3 separate regions of the Homo sapiens genome follow, and all the other regions are linked to region 3. Evidence: promoter capture Hi-C in human tissues and cell types (Jung and others, 2019). All regions are on one chromosome and are shown on one strand. The core of a region is centred on a gene start or on the middle of the fragment in contact, and the rest is flanking DNA. Distances in the headings are between cores, read along the strand shown.

The links. Contacts are between HindIII fragments. The study calls those that stand out against the background at their distance.
Region 1: a contact is called between the fragment with the promoter of DLAT here and a fragment that was not itself captured in region 3, in 3 of the 25 tissues and cell types used here (dorsolateral prefrontal cortex, hippocampus and spleen).
Region 2: the fragment with the promoter of ALG9 here is called in contact with a fragment that was not itself captured in region 3 in 2 of the 25 tissues and cell types used here (bladder and hippocampus).

Annotation. Positions count from the first base shown.
Region 1 is chr11:112,023,933-112,026,849 of GRCh38, forward strand. It overlaps DLAT (dihydrolipoamide S-acetyltransferase), which reads left to right and starts at 1,476. Exons shown (of 14, transcript NM_001931.5): 1 at 1,476-1,819; 2 at 2,266-2,367. The coding sequence starts at 1,541. RefSeq lists enhancers at 438-627, 1,278-1,477. The HindIII fragment of the contact is 3,303 bases long and covers 1-2,917 here.
Region 2 is chr11:111,870,118-111,873,328 of GRCh38, forward strand. It overlaps ALG9 (ALG9 alpha-1,2-mannosyltransferase), which reads right to left and starts at 1,464. Exons shown (of 15, transcript NM_024740.2): 1 at 1,235-1,464; 2 at 115-253. The coding sequence starts at 1,365. RefSeq lists a silencer at 1,100-1,409. The HindIII fragment of the contact is 8,331 bases long and covers 1-3,211 here.
Region 3 is chr11:111,943,786-111,947,068 of GRCh38, forward strand. All of the region lies in intron 1 of DIXDC1 (DIX domain containing 1), which reads left to right. Among named protein-coding and RNA genes, the nearest start is that of DIXDC1, 8.1 kb to the left of the region's middle. The HindIII fragment of the contact is 6,003 bases long and covers 1-3,283 here.

The sequences.
Region 1 (2,917 bases), core at 226-2,725, 80 kb after region 3:
AACAATATAATTGCTCTCTTCATATTATTTAAAATATGCCTTTTCATTCAATCTAGAAATTTTATATTTCTCAATTATATTGCTTACATATTATTCTGATAGACAGCTGTACCTGCTTAAACATTCCAATTTAAGTAGGCATGAAATAGTACATCCAATCTGTTTTAGTTTTCCAAATTAATTGTTAGCAAGATTAGCCCCCATTTTTTTTTTTTTTTAACAGATGGGAGTCTCATTATGTTGCCCAGGCTGGTCTCAAACTCTTGGGCTCAAGTGATTCCCCCACCTCAGCCTCTCAAGCATTGCTGGGACTACAGGCATGCACCACCGCTCCTGGCTAAAATCTTGTTTTAAGTTTCTTCCCTCCAACTTCCTCTTGCGTTCTTGGTGTTCTCTAACCATCTCTACAGGGGGGAGGTGGTGATACACAGCACATGCTTCCTCCTTATCTAATGTCACCTTCAGTTCAGAAACGATATGTTTTCTAATTAAAAGACAACTTTACAAGAGAAGCGTGCCTAACAAAATGTGTAGATGACTTTTTATTCATTGATTCAAAAGACATACATTCAGCCCCCGCTATTTACTGGATATTAAGCTCTGGGGCTACATGGAAGGACCACGCAGACACTCTTCATGCCTTCAACGGCTTACAGTTAAGTTTTTCAAACATTTGAAACATAACGAAGCTTTTGGTTACTTAAAAGAATTCTATGGTATTAGGGAGCAACACCTGTTTTGTAAACCTATATCTTCATACAGGGAATATGCTTAATCTTGCTACAGTATACATGAATGCGGGAATGTATCTTCCTCTGGGCTGCCTTTCGTTACCACTTGGCTGGGTGGAACACCTGTTCACTCCACTTTCCACTTGGGCTACAAACCTGAAACGAAATCTTTGCAACCAGTACAGCCTGCGCGGGGCGCGGCCCAGTCCATCCCCCTTCGGATGCGCAGAAGCAGAGGTCACCACGCCGGACCCCTCGATTCCCTCGCGGGCGATTCCTGGCTCCTTCACCACCCCAGCACTCCAAGACCCCCGCCCTTTGGCCTGAGGCTCCCACTGCCCTAGCCAGTTCCCGGGCTCACTTCCAGCTTTTCCAGAAAGCTTGGCCACGCCCCTCGGCCCAGACTCTCAGGCCACTCGGCCGCAATTAACCCGCGTCTCTGCGCCTTTTTAGGCCCCTCCCCCTCGGTCGTGCCCTTGTCATCTCTTAGGCCCCGTCTCACCCTTTCGGATGCCTCCCCTAGAACCCTACCACTTTCCACCCCTTTCCGTCTGTTATTTCTCCCAAACTTGCGCCCGCACAGGCCCCTCTGGAACACTCCTGCCCCGTAGTGCCCCTCGTCCCCGCTCCGTAGAGAAAGAGCGTGCGTGCCGCGCATTTCTGGCCTGGGGAGCGGGTGGAGTAAACCTGCGGGAACCATTTTACGACAACGTGCGGCTGTGCGGTGTGGCTGACGGCAACGCCGCTGCTCTTGGAGAGGTCACTCCGGAGACGGCGTTGGTTTTGGGGTGTGGGGGGTTGGTGGCACTATGTGGCGCGTCTGTGCGCGACGGGCTCAGAATGTAGCCCCATGGGCGGGACTCGAGGCTCGGTGGACGGCCTTGCAGGAGGTACCCGGAACTCCACGAGTGACCTCGCGATCTGGCCCGGCTCCCGCTCGTCGCAACAGCGTGACTACAGGGTATGGCGGGGTCCGGGCACTGTGCGGCTGGACCCCCAGTTCTGGGGCCACGCCGCGGAACCGCTTACTGCTGCAGCTTTTGGGGTCGCCCGGCCGCCGCTATTACAGTCTTCCCCCGCATCAGAAGGTGAGCCCTAGACCCCCCTTCTCGGGACCCCGTTGTCCTTCAGAGCTGACTGGATGCCTGCAAGATCCTCCTTGAGAGGCCTCACTGATCCTCCACCCATTCCCAGTATCTGCTTTGGCCCTTTGTCCAATAGTTGGCTTTGCTGTAGCTCCTTAGTGTCCCTCTCATGATCTATTTCATTGAAAGGAGAGCTTCAAGACTGGGGCTGTATGCAGAATATCTGCCGAGGTTCATGCTTTGTCAGACCCACAGGACTGTGGAGGAGAAAGCCTGTCACTGGAAATTACTAACTTCTCATGGACAGGAACTCCCTTGGCATCCCTAGTTCCCAATGTGCAATGGAACTGTATACACTTTGCATGAAATTGAATTGAATGAAATCTTAAGCCAGACTGAGAGTTAGGTAGTCCTTAAAAATTTTAATGTTTCTTCTTTTCCTTTTCCAGGTTCCATTGCCTTCTCTTTCCCCCACAATGCAGGCAGGCACCATAGCCCGTTGGGAAAAAAAAGAGGGGGACAAAATCAATGAAGGTGACCTAATTGCAGAGGTAAGTTTTTTTTTTTTTTTTTAATTAATTTATTTATTTTTTTTATTGATCATTCTTGGGTGTTTCTCGCAGAGGGGGATTTGGCAGGGTCATAGGACAATAGTGGAGGGAAGGTCAGCAGATAAACAAGTGAACAAAGGTCTCTGGTTTTCCTAGGCAGAGGATCCTGCGGCCTTCCGCAGTGTTTGTGTCCCTGGGTACTTGAGATTAGGGAGTGGTGATGACTCTTAAGGAGCATGCTGCCTTCAAGCATCTGTTTAACAAAGCACATCTTGCACTGCCCTTAATCCATTTAACCCTGAGTGGACACAGCACATGTTTCAGAGAGCACAGGGTTGGGGGTAAGGTCACAGATCAACAGGATAAGAATTTTTCTTAGTACCGAGCAAAATGAAAAGTCTCCCATGTCTACCTCTTTCTACACAGACACGGCAACCATCCGATTTCTCAATCTTTTCCCCACCTTTCCCCCCTTTCTATTCCACAAAACCGCCATTGTCATCATGGCCCGTTCTCAATGAGCTGTTGGGTACACCTCCCAGACAGGGTG
Region 2 (3,211 bases), core at 214-2,713, 74 kb before region 3:
AAATACAGTTATTTTACTAGGAGTCACACTTGTATATTATTTGTCTCTCGATTGGTAATAACACCTATGCTGCAAAATCAAGAACAAAAAGAGAAAACTAAAGAAATCACCTACTGGCTCCCAGTAGTTGAATGTTTCATCACAGTCAGAGATGTTGCTCAGGAGAGCAGCACATAACCTTGCTGAAAGCAGACACTTGAAAGCAGTAGATCCTTCAGGTGCCCAGACTTGTCCTGCTTTGTTCCCAGATAACCTGTTCAAAAGCAAAAAAAAAAAAAAAAAAAAAAGCATGTCAGGAAGGACCTGCTAATCAGAAGACCTAAATCTAGATAGAAAGGACAAAAAGGGCAAGGGACATCAAAGCACTTAAGTTATTCACCTAAAAAGGTGAATAGCTAGTTGTTTTTTCTCAGTAAAATTAATAAAAATTCAGATTTTTAAGAAAAAATTTTTATGAGATAGGGTCTTGCTATGTTGCCCAGGCTGGACTTAAACTCCTAGGCTCAAGTAATCCTCCTGCCTCAGCCTTCTGAAGAATTGACTTTAATCACTCAATCACTCCTTCCACTTCCTGCTTTTAAGGCATAAATTAACTCATACACTTTAGCTCAATGCATTTATGTCACTCCATTTATCCCAAGCCAACTAATCACTCACTTGAAGGCCACAAAGCTGTCATTCTCCTTTTCTTTCTTTTCTTAACAAGGTCATTGCTTTTGATGGCTTTATTCATTCCCCCTTATGTTCAGATAGAAGCCTAGGTGCAAGGTACATAGCCTACTCCAATTCCATATGTTGACAGCTCCCTTAATGCAGTTCTAACCTGCAGCCTCCAGGGTTTGGGAAGAGGTGATGGCGGGTTGGATGGGCCCAGTAAAGGGTCGGGACTTGAGGGAGAATAAAAGGAGCTGTGAGGAACAGCCGTAAAAGGTATACTCTTTGATCCTGTCTACATCTCCCACAGAGGCTGTGCCCACTCTAGGCCTGGCCCAGGAGCATCACAGATCCGCACTCCAAGGCAGTTTTACAGCGCAGTGGAGGGATCTAAGGTGGGCGAAGACTGAATGCTGACCCGCCCAGGAAGACCAATAGGACCTAGCTGAAGAGGGAGCTCGGGCCTCCCGCGGTGAGGCCAGGCCGGACTGAGCCCCGCGCGCCACAGCTAAGACCCTCCCGGGGGCAGCCCCGAACCGCCCCGCCGGCCGGCCACGCCCCTGCCGCGCCGCACACGTACTCGGTCCGGTGCTCCGCGCCGCCCGCCTCTCGGCTGCCCAGCAGCTCCCGCAGCTTGTCCGCAGCCGGGGCCGTATCCCCACTGCTGGCCCCGCTGCCCTTCAGGCGCTGCCGAGCCCCTCGACTAGCCATGGCAAGCCTGGGGAAAAAAGAATTCGGCACCCTATGAAGTCGGTGAGCGCGCAGACATAGCTTTGGCTGGCAAACGGTGTCCGCCGAGGGACAAAAGACCTTGACATGCGCAGAAAATACTAAATTATAGCGTTACTGGGCCAATTGGGGCAGATCCCCGAGTAGCGAAGAAATAGAACCTGAGGAGTTTCTTCATCAGGGCTGTCCCATCCACCTGCTTCTAACTCTAGCCATTCCTACCTCCCTCCAACCCTCTTTTCCGTCACTTTTCAGCATTCTCCATTCTCAAAAAAAAAAAAAACCACCTCTCAGCTCCCCTATTTAAATGAAAAAACAAATAGAAAGTGATTAAAGAAATCTACATAGTGAGATGTGAAGTATTCAGTTAAATATCACAGCACAGCTATCTACTAAAAGGTCCTTAAAATGTCATTTTTAACACCTTGCCTTCTCTGTATTTTGGTAAGAGTGACAGAGGCAGCCTGTAGCTAAAAACTGCTTCAGAGAGACAAACCGGTAATGGCAGAGTGTAGACTGATGAAATTCTGTGCGGCAAATTGAACCAGATGTCCATCACTGTCATCGCTACTACGGCATTGTGGTAGGCATTTTACATATTTTATCCTTTTTAAACTTAATACAACAACCTTGTTTTATTTACCAGGAAACTAAATAAACTTGGAGCTAGTAAATGGTGGAGCTATGTTCCAGCCCAGGACTATCTTACCGGAAAGCCCATGCTCTCTCTTCCCACCAGATCTGGTGAAAGGTCTTCATTTCCTACAATCATTTTTATACTGGCACATTGATGATATCATACCTGTGACCCCCATATCTTGGGGGTCATTCATCTAATCCTGACACTCTATCCACTCCTCTAATCACAGAGCTATATCCTACCCTGTCGAGCTCCATGCCAGTAACTGGGACAAGTTTATAGAGGGAATGCTAATCTCTTGACAAGGTCTCAGAAGGTTGTGATTTCCTACTAAAAATTCCCAAGTATTGAAAATGGAGATTGATCATATTGCTCAATTCTCACATGCAGTCATTAGTTACCAAGTTCAAATATCCAGCTTAACTCTTTTTTTCTTTTCTTTTTCTTCTTTTTTTTTTTTTTTTTTTGAGACAAGAGTCTTCCTTGCTCACCCAGGCTAGAGTGCAGTGGCACAATCTCAGCTTACTGCAACCTCTGCCCCCTAGGTTCAAGAGATTGTCTTGCCTCAGCCTCCCTAGTAGCAGGGACTATTGCCACCACACTGGCTAATTTTTGTATTTTTAGTAGAGATTAGGTTTCGTCATGTTGGCCAGGCTGGTCTGGAACTCCTGGCCTCAAGTGATCCACTTACCTCAGCCTCCCAGAATGCTGGGATTATAGGCGTGAGCCACTACACCCAGCCTAACTGTATCTCATATACCCATCTCCTCCTTTTCATTTAAGTCTAATGCAGGTCCCTCCCTGTCTACGTAGGACTAACACAATAGCATCTCCACAGGGATCACTCATCTCAAATTCATCCTGTGCAACATTAACCAGTTAATTTTCCAAAGCACTACTCTGGGGCACTTCCTTAATAAAAAACCACCGGATGTTTTCCTATTGCCTACCAAATAAAGTACAAACTCCTTATTCTAGCATTTGGTATTCATGAACTCCAGCCCCAACTTACCGTTCCAATCTTATCTCCCACTACTTTCCTATGCACACTTTACATCCCAGCTAACTAGCCTAGAAAGTGCCCCCAAATGCTCCCTTATCTATATCTCTGTTTATGGATGTCCTCTGCCCAAAATGCACACCCTACTTGCCTAACAATTCTCCCTTCACATTCCTGCCCTTGTTTTA
Region 3 (3,283 bases), core at 401-2,900:
CACTGCGCCTGGCCCATTTCTGGAATTTTCTATTTAATATATTCAGACGGTGGTTGACCATGGGTGGTTGAAACTGTGGAAAGAAAAACTATGGGTAAGGGAGACTTCTGTACAAAGAACCTGTCCATGAAAGGAAGAAGAAATTCAAGGATATTTTTACTTGTGAACTTTATTTGTACCCAATTAGCCATCAAATTCAATGAACAAATAGCTTTTGCAGGTTCAGTAAAGGGCTGAAAGAGTTAATAGAAAAGAAATACAATAGGGTGTTTACTGGCAGAATTTAGGCCAATAATAACATAAGGTTTTTAAATCTCTAGCCTTGCTCTTAGTTTCTCAGCAACTTCCCCACCCTCATCTCCTCATCTTCTGCTGCTGGAGGGTCTCAGAGTTCTAAACAGGTATCTGGTTTCACTGTAAAACTAATTTCCTTCCTGAGCCATTCATGTCTCCTCCTGAACTGTCTCTCTAGCATACCACAAAAGCTCTCTGCTTTTCTTGTTTGCTTTTCTTGTTGCCAGCAGGAAAACATAGAGTCGCCTCCTTGGCTGTTTCTGCTCTAAGAACAGTAGATACCACATACTTCCCTGGTGAAGCCCCATTGGTGCTTTCGCAACTCTAGCAAATAAGTCCCCTGCAGGAATTCTGTGAGCTTGAGTCTTGGAGGAGATAGAGAACTGAGGCTCGGCTTACAAACCTGTTTGGAAGGAAGGGCAGGTCCCAAAGAAAAACAGGAAGAAGGTTACATTTGGTGGCAAGAAAGCTTTCAAGGTCAAGATTTCCTGCACAAATGAAGATTTTGGATGGAATTGTGTATACTAGAAGACTTTTACCTAAAATCATAGGGTTATTTGGAGTGTCTTGGAGGAAGCTGATGGAGATTATGGGATTGCTAAAGCCTCCTTCCACCGGCCACCTCGTGGTACTATCACTGCTCTCACAACTTTAGAGGGGTCCAGTCTCATCAAGCCAAAATCCTTCTCAGACAGTTTTAACTCTTGTTATGTCTACTGACTGACTTCTTCTGAGGCCTGACTCAGAGGGTGGTTACCATGAAAACCTTCAGTTGTTCTAGACATTTATTACACTGGCATCCTTTTAGCTTCCTTAGAACAAATTAGTCATGAAACTCCAGACTGAGATTAGTTCAACACTGTTACACACGTAGTATGTACCAACTGTCTTGGTCTTTTTTAAAAAATTAGTTCGGTTACAAGTGCCAAAAACCCAACTTGAACTAGCAGGGATAGGAAGTGGACGTTATTGACTCATGGAATCCAAGGAAAGGCAGAAAAACTAAACCATGGAAAGGGCAGGGATGCAGCAGAAACAATGAAATCAAGAACTCTGACACTGGCAGGATCTCTTCCTCTGTTCTCTGCCTCTTGTCTGCTTCTTTCTATGCTGGCTTTATTCCCATTTACTAGAGCTGGTTTTTCCTTCTCAGGTGGGCAGCATGGCCTATGGCAACGTCTAAGTTTTATATCTTACAACTTTGAGAGAGATGAGGGAGGAGGAGGAAGACTGATTCTATTCCTAAATGCCAGTTCAGAAAGTTCCAGGGATTGGCTGGCTTTCACCAATCAACTTTGGCAGACCAATCAAGTGTGACCAGTGGAGGGGGTGATACAATACCAACCTGGTCATAGGACCCACCACTGTGTGCACAGAGGAGGGTTCTTAAAGAAGAGGGAATCATTGTGGGCTGGGCAGCTACCCCAGGAGCTGTTAGCTACACTATCACTGTAAGCCTAGCTGGAATCTGATCATTCCTACTTTGCCTCTCTTGACCAAGATCCAGGGTCATAATCAAAATATAATTCTTTTTTTTTTTAATTGTTATGCGAAAGAGCTTCATTTATTTGTTTAGTTTTCTGACTTTGTGCTGGTGTGTTCAATACTTTTTCTTTTCCTGAATAAGGAAGGCACGCTTGGTTCTGTCACAGACACATTTAGTACACATAGAACAACCACAGGCCTTGCTGACATGGATTTTTTTTTGAGACAGAGTCTTGCTCTGTTGCCCAGGCTGGAGTGCAGTGGCACGATCTCAGCTCCCTGCAACCTCTGCATCCTGGGGTCAAAGGATTCTTGTGCCTCAGCCTCCCAAGTAGCTGGAATTACAGGCATACACCACCAGCCCGGTTAATTTTTTTTTTTTTTTTTTTTGAGATGGAGTCTCGTTCTGTCGCTCAGGCTGAAGTGCAGTGGCACGATCTTGGGTCACTGCAAACTCCGCCTCCTGGGTTCAAGTGATTCTCCTGCCTTAGCCTCCCAAGTAGCTGGGATTATAGGCGCCTGCCACCACGCCCGGCTAATTTTTGTATTTTTTTTTTTTTTTGAGATGGAGTCTTGCTCTTTCGCCTAGGCCGGACTGCAGTGGTGCGATCTCGGCTCACTGCAAGCTCCGCCTCCTGGGTTCCCGCCATTCTCCTGCCTCAGCCTCCCTAGTAGCTGGGACCACAGGCGCCTACCACTGTGCCCGGCTAATTTTTTGTATTTTTAGTAGAGACGGGGTTTCACCGTGTTAGCCAGGATGGTCTCGATCTCCTGACCTCATGATCCGCCCGCCTTGGCCTCCCAAAGTGCTGGGATTACAGGCTAATTTTTGTATTTTTATTAGAAATGGGGCTTTGCCATGTTGGCCAGGCTGGTCTCGAACTCCTGACCTCAAGCTATCTGCCCACCTTGGCCTCCCAAAGTGCTGGGATTACAGGTGTGAGCCACTGCACCTGGTCAGTTTTTTTGTATTTTTAGTAGAGACGGAGTTTTGCCATGCTGGCCAAGCTAGTCTGTAATTGCTGGCCTCAAGTGATCTGCCTACCTCAGCCTCCCAAAGTGCTAGAATTACAGGCATGAGCCACTGCACCCAGCCAACATGTTTTTTTTCCTTTGTTTATTTTGGAGAACCTCTTAAGAACTTTAGGTGTCACAGCAGGAACTCATTGAAGTCGGCCTGGGCACACGCCACATGCAGATTTTGGTGTTTTCCCAACCTTCTTGGTATGAAGGTAAACAGTTCTGTGAACAGGGATTTGGGACAGCCTAATTTTGTTAGAGGCTGTATTGCAGAAAAGCCTACAATGGTATGCCAAATGCTGGACCATTCTGAGTGCCTATGGACACTGTCCCCAGAATAAGCAAGATCTATTTCTCAATATTCCAGATATTTCCATTTTGCTGAGCCTGTTGTATCTTTTTGTCACTGAATAATAGACTTGTAAAATGATAGTGTTAGAAGGAAACAAAATGCAGTTTTTTTTTTCTTTTGGTGTTTATATTT